Linked DNA regions of Homo sapiens: region 2 is linked to region 1. Evidence: promoter capture Hi-C in 16 types of primary human blood cells and fetal thymus (Javierre and others, 2016). All regions are on one chromosome and are shown on one strand. Each heading gives the region's core, a stretch centred on a gene start or on the middle of the fragment in contact. The rest is flanking DNA. Distances are from core to core; before and after follow the strand shown. Region 1 holds the start of CTXN1 (cortexin 1). Region 2 holds the start of MARCHF2 (membrane associated ring-CH-type finger 2).

Evidence for each region. Contacts are between HindIII fragments. The CHiCAGO score rates a contact against its expected background, and 5 or more counts as called.
Region 2: a contact is called between the fragment with the promoter of MARCHF2 here and the fragment with the promoter of CTXN1 in region 1, in 1 of 17 cell types (neutrophils). The highest score is 6.2, in neutrophils.

The regions. Positions count from the first base shown.
Region 1 is chr19:7,922,001-7,927,574 of GRCh38, reverse strand. CTXN1 (cortexin 1) reads left to right here and starts at 1,440. Exons shown (of 2, transcript NM_206833.4): 1 at 1,440-1,608; 2 at 2,017-3,084. The coding sequence starts at 2,037. The coding sequence ends at 2,285. TIMM44 (translocase of inner mitochondrial membrane 44) reads left to right here. Exons shown (of 13, transcript NM_006351.4): 13 at 269-857. The coding sequence ends at 388. It overlaps LOC124904629 (a long non-coding RNA gene), which reads right to left and starts at 2,170. Exons shown (of 2, transcript XR_007067120.1): 1 at 1,739-2,170; 2 at 765-1,002. It overlaps SNAPC2 (small nuclear RNA activating complex polypeptide 2), which reads right to left. Exons shown (of 5, transcript NM_003083.4): 4 at 5,228-5,540; 5 at 4,325-5,130. The coding sequence ends at 4,811. RefSeq lists enhancers at 10-759, 5,407-5,574 and silencers at 1,256-1,525, 2,056-2,145. The HindIII fragment of the contact is 5,018 bases long and covers 1-3,300 here.
Region 2 is chr19:8,410,902-8,417,292 of GRCh38, reverse strand. It overlaps MARCHF2 (membrane associated ring-CH-type finger 2), which reads right to left and starts at 3,988. Exons shown (of 5, transcript NM_001005415.2): 1 at 3,873-3,988. RefSeq lists silencers at 1,374-1,668, 3,822-3,981, 4,012-4,371 and enhancers at 3,863-4,363, 5,234-5,528. The HindIII fragment of the contact is 7,216 bases long and covers 1,969-6,391 here.

The DNA.
Region 1 (5,574 bases), core at 191-2,690:
GCTCAGAGCCCTGAAGCTCTGGGACTGGGTGGGGATGTGGAGAAACCTCTGGGCCAGAGTTTGGGGTTGAGGGAGGTCGGAGACCAGCAGACCTGTCTGTTTTTACCAAGGCTGAGTGGTTCCTGAGTCTAGGCAATTGTGCTGGCCTCTGCTCCCAGCCCCTGGGGAAGTTGCCGGTGGCTCCTGCCCCACAGAGCCTGGCCCCCCCCCAGAGCTGCCTGGGTCACCTCAACCCTCTCAACAGTGCCCTTCCCACCCCACCCTGCAGGACAAGGTGCTGCGGATGCTGTACGTGTGGGCGCTCTGCCGAGACCAGGACGAGCTCAACCCCTACGCGGCCTGGCGGCTCCTGGACATCTCGGCCTCCAGCACCGAGCAGATTCTCTGAGTGTGGTGCCGGAGCCAGGTAGCCCCGGCCTGGGTCATCAGGCACAGAGGCACCGCAACACCACCTGCGGCAACTCCAGACCTCTGGGAACAAGACTGCGGGCTCTGCCCCCAGCTCTGCCAGGACGGCTGCAAGACCAGCTGGCCCGGGAGGGGACAACGGGCTGTTGCGGGTGCGCGGCAGCTGGAGACACTCCCCCGCAGGGCCAACCCCTGCCCTGTTGCTCTGCCCTGCAGGGGTCCCGGCGCCTGGTCACCTGGGGTGCACACAGGTCACACAGTGCCAAGAGGCCCCAGGGCCCAGGGACTCCCCCCACAGCAGGGTGGGACCCGGGACCCGCGGCTCAGTGGCCCGCTAGCCACGTCAGCCAAGCCACTTTAGGTCCATTTTTTAATTTTAACAGTGCTCTTCCATCTTGTGCATAAGCCTGAGATTTGGAAAGAATAAAACACCGAATTGCAGAAGAGCAGCTACGGAGTCTGAAGTGTCTTCTCTGGCGCGGGAGTGGCCGAGGCGATGGTGGGGGTGGGAGCAGGCGGCTGCTGTGGGAGGCGGTCAAGGTCGAGTGAGGAACTGCAGCCGCAGTGGGTGGACGCCTTGCCCAGGGCTGGACCCTGAGTTGGAAGACGAGGCCAGTGACAGACAAAACTAGGGGGACTTACTCATCCCAGTGACCTGCCTGAGCTCTCTGAGAATTGAGGTCCCCAGGGCCGGGGGAGCTTGAGTGCCCATATGAGTGTTTTAGGGCCACTGAGGTCCCCCCACAAACAGGGAGTCTCGAGTGGGGTCTATCGCGGAGGAGAATGCAGGCACAGGGCAGGCTGGGGGGCCCGAAGTGCCAGGGGAGGTGGGAGTGGCAGCTGCCCACTCCCCGGCGAGGTCGTGGGTGCTCGCGGGTCCTCGGGGCTGGGGTTCCGTCCTCCCGCAGGCCCGGGCGGGGTCGCTGGCTCGCGCGCCGCTCCCTGCGCAGCCTCCGCCCCCTGCAGCCCCGCCCCCCGCGGCGGCCCCGCCCCCGTCGCCATAGGAACAGCCGCGGCGGCCCGGCTCGCGCGCTGCTTGCCTGCCTCGGTCTCCGCCGCTCCAGGGGCGGGTGGGGTGGGCTGAGCCGGAGCCCGGGCCGCCGCCGCCGCCGCCGGGGAGAGGCCGAACGCGCAGCCGGCGCGGGTCCCTGAGAGAGCGCGGCCGCCGGGCGGTCGGTCCCCGTCCGGGTCGAAGCCAGGGTGAGGGGCGCGCCGGGGCGGGGGCGGTGGGGGAGGGGGTCCCAGGCCGCCGAGAACAAAGGGAGCGGGGGCAGGGGCCGCGGGGACCGTCCCCACGCCGCGCGCCCGGGCCGCGGCCGCGCTTTCGCACCTGTTGTGTGCGGCCCAGGCCGGGCGCGGCTCCGTTTCCCGGCTCTCAGCGCCCCCACCTGCGCGCACGGCCAGAGTTGGGTCCCCGCGTGGTGGTGGCGGCGATCCGGCGGGCCGGGCATGGGCGTAGCCCGGGGACCGAGGCGCGGGCGGGGGATGGGGTCGGGCACGTTAAGGGAGGCGGCGGCGGCGGCGGCAGGAGGGGGCGAAGCGGAGGAGGCGCGGGAGGGAGGGCGCAGCCTCATCCCCGGCGCCCGGGGCGGGTCCCCTCCTCCGCAGGGCGCGCGGCGATGTGAGCCATGAGCGCGACGTGGACGCTGTCGCCGGAGCCCCTGCCGCCGTCGACGGGGCCCCCGGTGGGCGCGGGCCTGGACGCGGAGCAGCGCACGGTGTTCGCCTTCGTGCTCTGCCTGCTCGTGGTGCTGGTGCTGTTGATGGTGCGCTGCGTGCGCATCCTGCTCGACCCCTACAGCCGCATGCCCGCCTCGTCCTGGACCGACCACAAGGAGGCGCTCGAGCGCGGGCAGTTCGACTACGCGTTGGTGTGAGGGGCGCGGCGCCCCCTAGCCGGCCCTGCGCCGGGGTCTCAGAGGGCCGGCCCGGCGGGGGGCGCCGCGGGGCCAGGACTGCGCTCAGGATCCCGCCCCGGAGCCCCCAGCCCGGGGGAGAGGGGGAGGGAGTTGGGAGAAGCCCAGCCCCTCCCCCTCGAGACCCCTCCCATGTCCCTTCCTGGCCTGGCCGGAGCCCCACCTCGTGCCTTTATCCGCCCTGTCCCTTCCTCTCTGCGCATCTCACCCGCCCGGCTGGCCCCCACCCCCGACTCTGAATCCCGGGCGGGAGGAGGACCCCCGCACCGCCCCCTCCCCAGCGTGTAAGTGGCTCTGCTATTGTGCGTCCCTGGAAGTGGGGACCCCCTTGTCCCTCCTCCCTCCCCTGTTGTCTGGCCGTCGTCAACCCCACCTTGACTGAGTGTTGAGCCCGTCCTTGGGCTCTGGTCCCTGCGGGGCAGGCTCTCCCGGGCCCACGGGGCGGACGCTGCATACCAATTTGCCCTGCACCGCCTGTCCCGGAGACGGAGCCCGAAGGCCTGCCATGGCGGCTGTGTCGAGGATGCGTGGCGCCTGCCGTGGCGGGACAGCGTGGGCAGGCTCATTTCTGCCCCCAACCCGGGCCCCAGGACAGGTCAGCGCGCCCTGCCCCGGTGCCCACCGCTGCCCCCCATCCGCCCTCCTGCCACTTGCCCCTGACCCCCCTGCCGTGCCTCCCGCAGCCCTCCCATGCCGTTCCACTCCTCCCTGCCTCTGAGCCGAACATGATAATAAAAGCTATTATTGAGCGCTTACTGCATGCCAAGTAGCGTGCTGAGTTGGCACCTCCTGTTTATAGCCTGTCTCCTCTTCGGGATCGTGAGAATGAGCCAGGCCCTGTTAGCATCCCTATTCTACAGGCCAGGAGACCGAGGGCCAGGCAGCTCCAGTGACTGACTTGCCCACAGTCACATGGCTAGAGTCTGGTAGGGCTGGAAGTGGAACCCAGGTCTGGCTTTTGCATGTTTTTAAAGCTTCCCAGGGCTGCAAAGACACCAAGATCACAAGCACCTTTCACCGGCTTTGGGGGGGGGGGCTGATGTGTAACCCCCAGCTGCCTCCCCTCCACACACAATTCTGTTGATCTGGGGAGGCGCCGGGGGTGGTGAGAGAGACTCAGCCCTGTGGGGAACTGGGAGGCGCACCCTCTGCCAGCCCTGGAGGGAGGCTCCGACGACCGACCGTACCTGCAGCCTAAGCCTCCTCCCCCTGCCCACCACCATTGGCAGCGTTTGTGGGTCTGGTGCGGTGGGGCGGTGACCACGGACGGAGTGGGCTGGCTGTGCTCCAAGGCCCTCCCAAGAGATGTGCACCCCAGGGGAGCCGTGTGCAGTGTGTGGGGGGAGGAATGAGCGTTTCTATAAAAGGCAGGCTGGGTGAATGCACAGGCTCCGAGAACGGAGAATTTACCGACTTGGATTACTAGCTGGGCGTGGGACGCGGTGCCGTGGGAGGACATCTGCTTCCCTCTCTAGGACCCGACCCTCGGTCCACACCCACAGGGCAGGTGAAGCTGATGGAGGGGGCCTCAAGCGGGGTCCCAGCACCCCCAGGGGTTTGGGGTCAGCCCTGACTCCAGTACCCCTCCCTCCCCGCCTTCTAGGGATCCTTGAGGTCCCAAAGCCACCCCAGGGGACACTCCACTCCCACTAGCCTCCTGCCACTCGGGGCAGCCCACCCCTATCTATCTTCCTCTAACCGCCCAGCCTGGGGCTCAACTCCTTCCACCGGGTCACCCCCACTCTCTGCTGCCTTCTCCCCTCCACCTGTGCGATGTGATTTTGCCCTACTCTGAAACCCATCCCTGACGCCTGTCCCCAAGGTGCCCTGCCGGCTCTCCCCATCCACACTTGTCAGCTTCACAGTCACCAAGGGGCTCCTCACCCCAGGCCTCATCACACCAGTCAGGTGGCAGCTCTCCTCCCTGGCACACACCCCCAGCCCTGTGACCCCCAAGCTCTGACACTTCAGGGCCCCCACTTCCATCTTTAAGTCACAGGTGAAAGAGAAAGAGAATGATAACTTTATTCATGGTCACAGAATACCCCCGGGAAGGGGAAGGACCTGGCAGCAGGGAGTAACCACGACTGGTCAGTTGAAGAAGGTGAGGATGCTGGCCCCGAGGTGTACAGGAAGGGGGAAAATGTGCGAGGGCCTTTACGGTGGGCAGTGCCAGCTATGGCCCCCCAGCAGACAACAAGGCACAGTGGGGCTTGGGGACTGGGGGAGGCCAGCCCTGTCCGCCTGTCCTTGACATCAGGAGGCTTGTGAGTGGAGTCCTGCAACCCCCACCCAACCCCTGTACAACGGGGGTTCCATTTCTGAGACCCCCAAAGTATGGGGCATCTTAGAGGCCCGCCCCACAGCTGAGCATCATCTCAAGGACCTTCCCCCATGACGGGATCCTCAGAAAGAGCCAGGGCCAGCCGAGCAGAACCGAGGGGCAGGGCGGGGGGCCTGGTGTGGCCTCCTGCCCGCCATGCCCCTCACCTGGCAGGGGTGGCTGCCCGACCCAGAAGCTCCAGGGGCACCAGGAACGGGTTCAGGGGACAGATCCCAGCTGCTTGCCAAGGCGATTTCAGTTCGCTGTGCTCGGCCTTCTCGGTGGCTGGGGGGGTCTCCTCTGGTGCCTTGGAGCCAGCCCCATCCCCTTCTGCTGCAGGCCCCAGGCTCCCTCCAGCGGGAATGGGCTGGGGGGCTGTCAGGCGTAGGTACGTCTCCGTCATATGCTCAACCAGGGCTGTGCAGGGCAGGAGTGGCAGCTCCTCTGGAAGTGACATGAGCAGGTCGAGGACCACAGCGGACTCTAGTGATGGATGGAGGAGAGGGGTAAGGGGACACCCCTGCCTGCTGCCAGGGACCCTTGATCCCTCTGCTCCTGCCCCCTCCCTCACCCTTCTCACCAGCTGCTGAGAGCTCGGGGCTGCGGCCACTTCGGGAGACAGAGGACAAGTACTTGTAGATCTTCTCAAAGTCCACAGCAAAGTCTTCTTCAGTGGAGGGACCAGCCGACGACTCAGAAGGTTTCTCAGGGGCAGGGTCAGGAGTCCTGGGTGCGGAGCTAGGTGCAGCAGGGGCAGAGCTAGGTATTTCAGGGGCGGGGTCTTCCTGTCCTCCAGGGGCGCTCAGGAGCAAAGGCTTTCCACGGGCCTGCGTGGGCTTGGGGGGCTTGGAGTGCAGGAGGGTGACCGGTTCCGTGGCCGCGATGGTGAGCACCTGGCAGGCAGAACAATCAGGGAGGAAGAGGAGC
Region 2 (6,391 bases), core at 2,739-5,238, 490 kb before region 1:
TTTGTATTTTTAGTAGAGACAGGGTTTCACCACGTTGGCCAGGCTGGTCTCCAACTGCTGATCTCAAGTGATCTGCCCGCCTCGGCCTCCCAAAGTGCTGGGATTACAGGCTTGAGCCACCACCCCTGGCCTGGTCTTTACATTTCTGCAAATAACTGGATATTACAGGAACTATCCCAGCTCCTGCATGTGGTGTTCTAATATTTCTTCTATCAGGGAGAAAAAAAAAAAACCACAGGTAAATCTCTTAATGCAAGGCCTGCAAACCACCAAAATTATACTAGCAGCTTCTATCTATTAAGAACCAGACACTATGCCAAGCAATCTCCATACATAGTCATCATCTCACTGAACTCGAAACAGTTGTTATAAGTGTCTCCTTCAAAGGTCACCTTCCTGGAGAAGCCTTCTCGACAATGCTGTCTGGGGCCTGGCGCATTGGCTCATGCCTGTAATCCCAACACTTTGGGGGCTGAGGTGGGAGGATCGCTTGAGCCCAGGAGTTTGAGAGAAGCCTGGGCAACATACCAAGACCCCGTCTCTACAAAAAATACAAAAATGAGCCGGGTGTGGTGATGTGCGCCTGTAATCCCAGCTACTCAGGAGGCTGAGGTGGGAGAATCGCTTGCACCCAGGTTGAGGCTGCAGTGAGCCATGATCACACAACTGCACTCCAGCCTGGGCCACAGAGCAAGACCCTGTCTCAATCAATCAATGAAGTGCCAATGGGGTCCACTTGATTCCACTCGTGGCATGTGTCCCTGTCTGAAACATTCTACTTATTCACCTACGTATTTAGCCACGTCTGTTGTCCTACCCTACAGTGAATTCTGTAAAAAAGAGACCCTGTCAGATTGCCTCCCGCTGTCCCCAGCACCTGGCCCTCTGTCTAGCCCAGAGCTGCTGCATTTCTGGTTGCTGCTGCAGTCATTTTTTTTTTTTTTTTTTTTTTGAGACAGAGTCTCGCTCTGTCGCCCAGGCTGGAGTACAGTGGCCGATCTCAGCTCACTGCAACCTCCACCTCCTGGGTTCAAGGGATTCTCCTGCGTCAGCCTCCCGAGTAGCTGGGATTACAGGCACCCACCACCATACCCGGCTAATTTTTGTATTTTTAGTAGAGACAGGGTTTCACCATGTTGGCCAGGCCAGTCTCGAACTCCTGACCTCGTGATCCGCCCACCTCAGCCTCCTAAAGTGCTGGGATTACAGGCATGAGCCACTGTGCCTGGCCATGTTGTAGTCATTTCTCAATCCTCACTCCGTTTAAGAACAGCGTGAGAGAGCCACATCTCTTGACCCTCCGATCCTGGTCGGCCAGCCCCTGTGGTGGGCATCAGAGATATTTAGAGGCTAGAGGTCCACTCAAACCACAGAGGCCCAGGCCTGGAAGAGGCCAAACTTGAGGCTGGACACAAAGAGAGGGTGACTGCAAGTCGGACTCAGCTCTGAGGCTGCTGAAATGGGAGAGTGATCTGATGGCTCCAGCAAACTTGGCCCAGTGCCCAGGAGATTTATTTCTCTTCTTTCTTTTGTCTGGTTTTTTTTTTTGTTTTTTTTGTTTTTTTTTTTTTGAGATGGAGTTTCACTCTTGTTGCCCAGGGTGGAGAGCAATGGCACCACCTCGGTTCTCTGCAACCTCCGCCTCCCAGGTTCAAGCGATTCTCCTGCCTCAACCACCAGAGTAGCTGGGATTACCGGTGCCCTCCACCCACAGCTGGCTAATTATTTGTATTTTTAGTAGAGACGGGGTTTCACCATGTTGGCCAGGATGGTCTCAAACTCCTTATCTCAGGTGATCCACCCGCCTTGGCTTCCCAAAGTGCTGGGATTACAGGCATGAGTCACCGCGCCTGGCCTATTTCTTTTCTTTCTTTTGTCTGTTTTTTTTTTTTTTTCTTTTGAGGCAGGGTCTCAATCTGTCACCCAAAAGGCTGGAGGGCAGTGTAGTAATCACAGCTCACTGAAGCTTCCACCGCCCCCAGGTTCAGGTGATCCTCCCACCTCAGCCTCCTGAGTAGCTCTGCACACCACCACATCCAGCTAATTTTTGTATTTTTTTGTAGAAATGGTGTTTTGCCAAGTTGCCCAGGCTGGTCCTGAACTCCTGGCCTAGTGATCTGCCCGCCTTGGCCTCTCAAAGTGTTGGGATTACAGGCATGAGCCACCACGCCCGGCCTGGAGATAGATCTCATTGAGTCTTCACAACAAACCAATAATTACACCCTATGATGGGGAAAGAGGCTGAAGCTCGGAGAGAGGCACCTACTTTCCCAAGGTCATATAGCTAGGAAGGGGTGGTGTCAGAATTTGAACTTAAAACAGTCCAGGGAGTGGTTCTGGACCTCAAGAGACCTGGGTTCTTTAACTCCTGGCCCTCCTGGCTATGCCACCGATGCTGGGTGTCCTGGTTCAAGTCACTTTGCTTCTCTGGGCCTCATTCTAATGATGGAGCTGGTGGACTCTGTCCGTGGAGGGGTCTCCTGAGAAGGAGCCTCCAGGCTGAATTCATCCAGTAAAGCTCACCCTTAGCTAGGCTTGTTTAGGGTGGCACTGAGGCCCCCCAGTCTTTTCCATACCTGCCCAGGCTCCTTTTCCTGAAGGTAGGAAACAGAGGGCAGAGGAATCAGAGGGCCCTAAAACTCCCTACATTGTGGTCTCAGGCAGCTGTTTTACTCTCTCAGCCTCAGTATTATCATCTCTAAAATGAGTGTTACAGGCCGGGCGCAGTGGCTCACGCCTGTAATCCCAGCACTTTGTGCACTTTGGGAGTTCAAGGAAGGTGGATCACTTGAGGCCAGGAGTTCGAGACCAGCCTGGTCAACATGGTGAAACCCCGTTTCTGCTAAAAAGACAAAAATTGGCCAGGCACGGTGGCGGGGGCCTGTAATCCCAACTACTTGACCAGGGTGAGGTAGGAATCGCTTGAATCTGGGAGGCAGAGGTTGCAATGAGCTCAGATCGTGCCACTGCATTCCAGCCTGGGCAAGAGAGAGAGACTCTGTCTAAAAAAAAAAAAGACGGGGAGTCATAATGATATGTAGTTCATAAATTAGTAAAAAATTAAGAAGTTAATAACTATTAGCTCTTATTATAATTACTATCATCAGCTTACAGAGTTGTTGATGAGAGGTCACACAGTCAACCCTGGCACACACAGTAAGTGCTCAATAAAAGCTCTATTAATATTTTTTAGGGTAAATGTGGAGGTTGTTATTGCATTCATTCCTCCCTGCATGAGAAGCAAGGTTCCAATCCCAGCTCTACTCCTTATGTGCTGTGTGGCCCTGGGCAAGACACTTAACCTCTTTGAGCCTGGACTCTCTCAACTGTATAACAGGGGACATTTCTACTGCTTCCACCTACTCAGTATGGTTTCAAAAGAACTGAATGAGCTCAACATGCCCATTTGACTACCCCGTTTTGAGCACCCACATAGCACAGGGCATCCTGTTTCAGCATCTTTGTGCAAAGTGGCTGGGTCATTATATTATAACTTACTATTTTGCAGGCAGAGCCGCTCTGAGAAGGAGGTTGGGGAAGGGCATTGGCCACTTAGCAGTTGCCTACTGTGTGTCAGGCGTTTTCTGCACCAGCCACCTCCTGAATCCTCCCAGAAGCCCCATCAGGTTGGCAATGGGATGACCCAGTTTCACAGGTGGGGAAACCGAGGCTCGGAGAGGCGCCTATGTGTGCCGGACCCCGGAGACCTCCCACCGGCCTTGACACGGGAACTGAGGTCCCCGCGTCCCCGAGAAGGCTGTGGCCAAGGGATCGAGCCCAGCCGTCCCGCCCGGGTGCCGAGCTCCGGCCTCGAACCCGGGGCCGGCCCGCGGACTGGCGTCCTCCGGCCCTACCTGCAGGCCCGTGCCTACCTGATCCGCGGCCGGGCCGGGCGGCCGCACAGGCCCCTCGGTTCGCCTCGGCCCCGGTCCCGGCCCGGCCCGGCCCGTCGGCGCCACTAGCTCCGCTCCGGCCGGCACCTGCGTCCGGGCACCGCCCGCCGAGCCGACAGCGCCGCGGACCAATAGCGACCGCCTCTCGCCTGCATTCGCCAATCGCCTTGCACGTCCCGCCCTAAGAGGCGGGGCCGGAGGCCACAGGGACGACTTGGGCCGCACAGGCCCCGCTGTGCCGCAGCTGCTGGCTCCGCCCCTGCCGCGTCTTGGCTCCGCCCCCAGCTCCGGCTCCGCCCCAGCACTGGCCCCGCCCCAGCCCCGCCCCAGGCACGAGGGGGTGCTGCTGCGCCACCTGCAGACGGCCAGCGTCCTCTAATAAATAAAACCTCTGCAGAATTTAACTTTTTTTTTTTTGAGACTGGCCGGGTGCAGTGGCTCATGCCTGTAATCGGAGCACTTTGGGAGGCCGAGACGGAAGGATCGCTTGAGGCCAGATGTTGGGGACCAGCCTGGGCAACATGGTGAGTTCCCGTCTCTACAAAAAATTTAAAAGGATGGGCGCGGTGGCTCACGCCTGTAATCCTAGCACTTTGGGAAGCCGAGGCGGGCGGATCACGAGGTCAGGAGATCGAGACCATCCTGGCTAACACGGTGAAACCCCGTCTCTACTAAAAATACAAAAAAATTAGCCGGGCGTGGTGGCGGGCGCCTGTAGTCCCAGCTACTCGGGAGGCTGAGGCAGAGGAATGGCGTGAACCCGGGAGGCAGAGCTTGCAGTGAGCCGACATCGCGCCACTGCACTCCAGCCTGGGTGACAGAGTGAGACTCTGTCTCAAATAAATACATAAATAAATAAATAATAAAATAAAATAAAATAAAAGTTAGCCAAGTGTGGTGGCCCAGGCCTGTAGTCCCAGCTGCTCTGGAGGCTGAGGCAAGAGGATCACTTGAGCCCAGGAGTTCGAGGCCAGTCTGGGCAACATAGTAAACTCACCCACCCCCATCTCTAAGACAGATCAATTTTTAAAAAAATACTGCACTATATGTTCACTTAGTATAAGCACACTTTTGCACATAATCACAGTATAACCTTCAAAATCAGAAAATTAATGTTCATCTAATATTATCATGTAATTCCCAGAGCCCATTCAAAGGCCAGGTGCAGTGACTCATGCCTGTAATCCCAGCACTTGGATCATTTGAGGTCAGGAGTTCGAGACCAGCCCGGCCAACATGGTGAAACCCTGTCTGTACTAAAAATACAAATAATTAGCTGGGTTTTGTTGTGGGCACCTGTAATTCCAGCTACTCAGGAGGCTGAGGCAGGAGAATTGCTTGAATCTGCAAGGTGGAGGTTGCAGTGAGCGGAGATCTTGCCACTGCACTCTAACCTGGGCAACACAGCCAGACTCTGTCTCAAAAAAAAGAAAAGAAAAGTTTCCAATAAAGTCCTTTAAAAATCCAAAGTCCAGGCCAGGCACAGTGAGTCATGTCTGCAATCCCAGCTCTTTGGGAGCCCAAGGCAGGAAGGTCTCTTGGGTCTAGGAGTCTGAGATCAGTCTGGGCAGCACAGTGAGACCCCATCTCTACAAAATAAAATAAAAATATTAGCCAGTTGTGGTGGCATCCTCCTGTGGTCCCAGCTACTTGGGAGGCTGAAGTGAGAGGATCAATTGAGCCCAGGAGTTCTGGGCTGCAGTGAGCCATTACCTCACCACTGCATTCCAGCCTGGGCAACAGAGCAAGATCCTGTGTCAAAAAACAAAAAATCCCAAATCCATCCCAGGATCAAGCATTGTATTTTGTTGTTAACGACTCTAATTTAGTCTCTCTTTCTGGAACATTTTATCAATCTTACCTTCTCTCCATGACATCAATATTTTTCAAAAATTCCAGGCTAGTAATTTTGCAGGAAGTCCTTCCATTGCTATTTGTCTAATACTTTCTCATGATTTTGCATTTGTGGCAGGAAACAGATGTGACGTTGTGTTTTCAGGATGCATACAATGCTGATTTTGTCCACTATCGATTGTGCTAACTTGGTTCAAATGGTGTCTGCCAGTTTCTCCAGTGTGAGGTTAGTATGTTACACTGTGGTGTTTTGTTGTTGTTGTTGTTTTTAATATTTTATTTAATTTTAATTTTTTTTTTTTTTTTTTGAGACAGAGTCTCACTCTGTCACCCAGGCTGGAGTGCAATGGTGTGGTCTCAGCTCACTGCAACCTCTGCCTCCCAGGTTCAAGGGATTCTCCTGGCTCACCTCCCGAGTAGCTGGGATTACAGGCCCGCACCACCACGCCCAGCTAATTTTTGTGTTTTTAGTAGAGGCAGGTTTCACTATGTTGGTCAGGCTGGTCTTAAACGCCTGACTTCAAGTGATCTGCCCACTTCCGCCTCCCAAAGTGCTGGGATTACAGGCAGGAGCCACCACGCCCGACCAATTTTTTTTTTCTTTTTTGGCGATGGAGTCTCATTCTGTGGCCCAGACTGGAGTG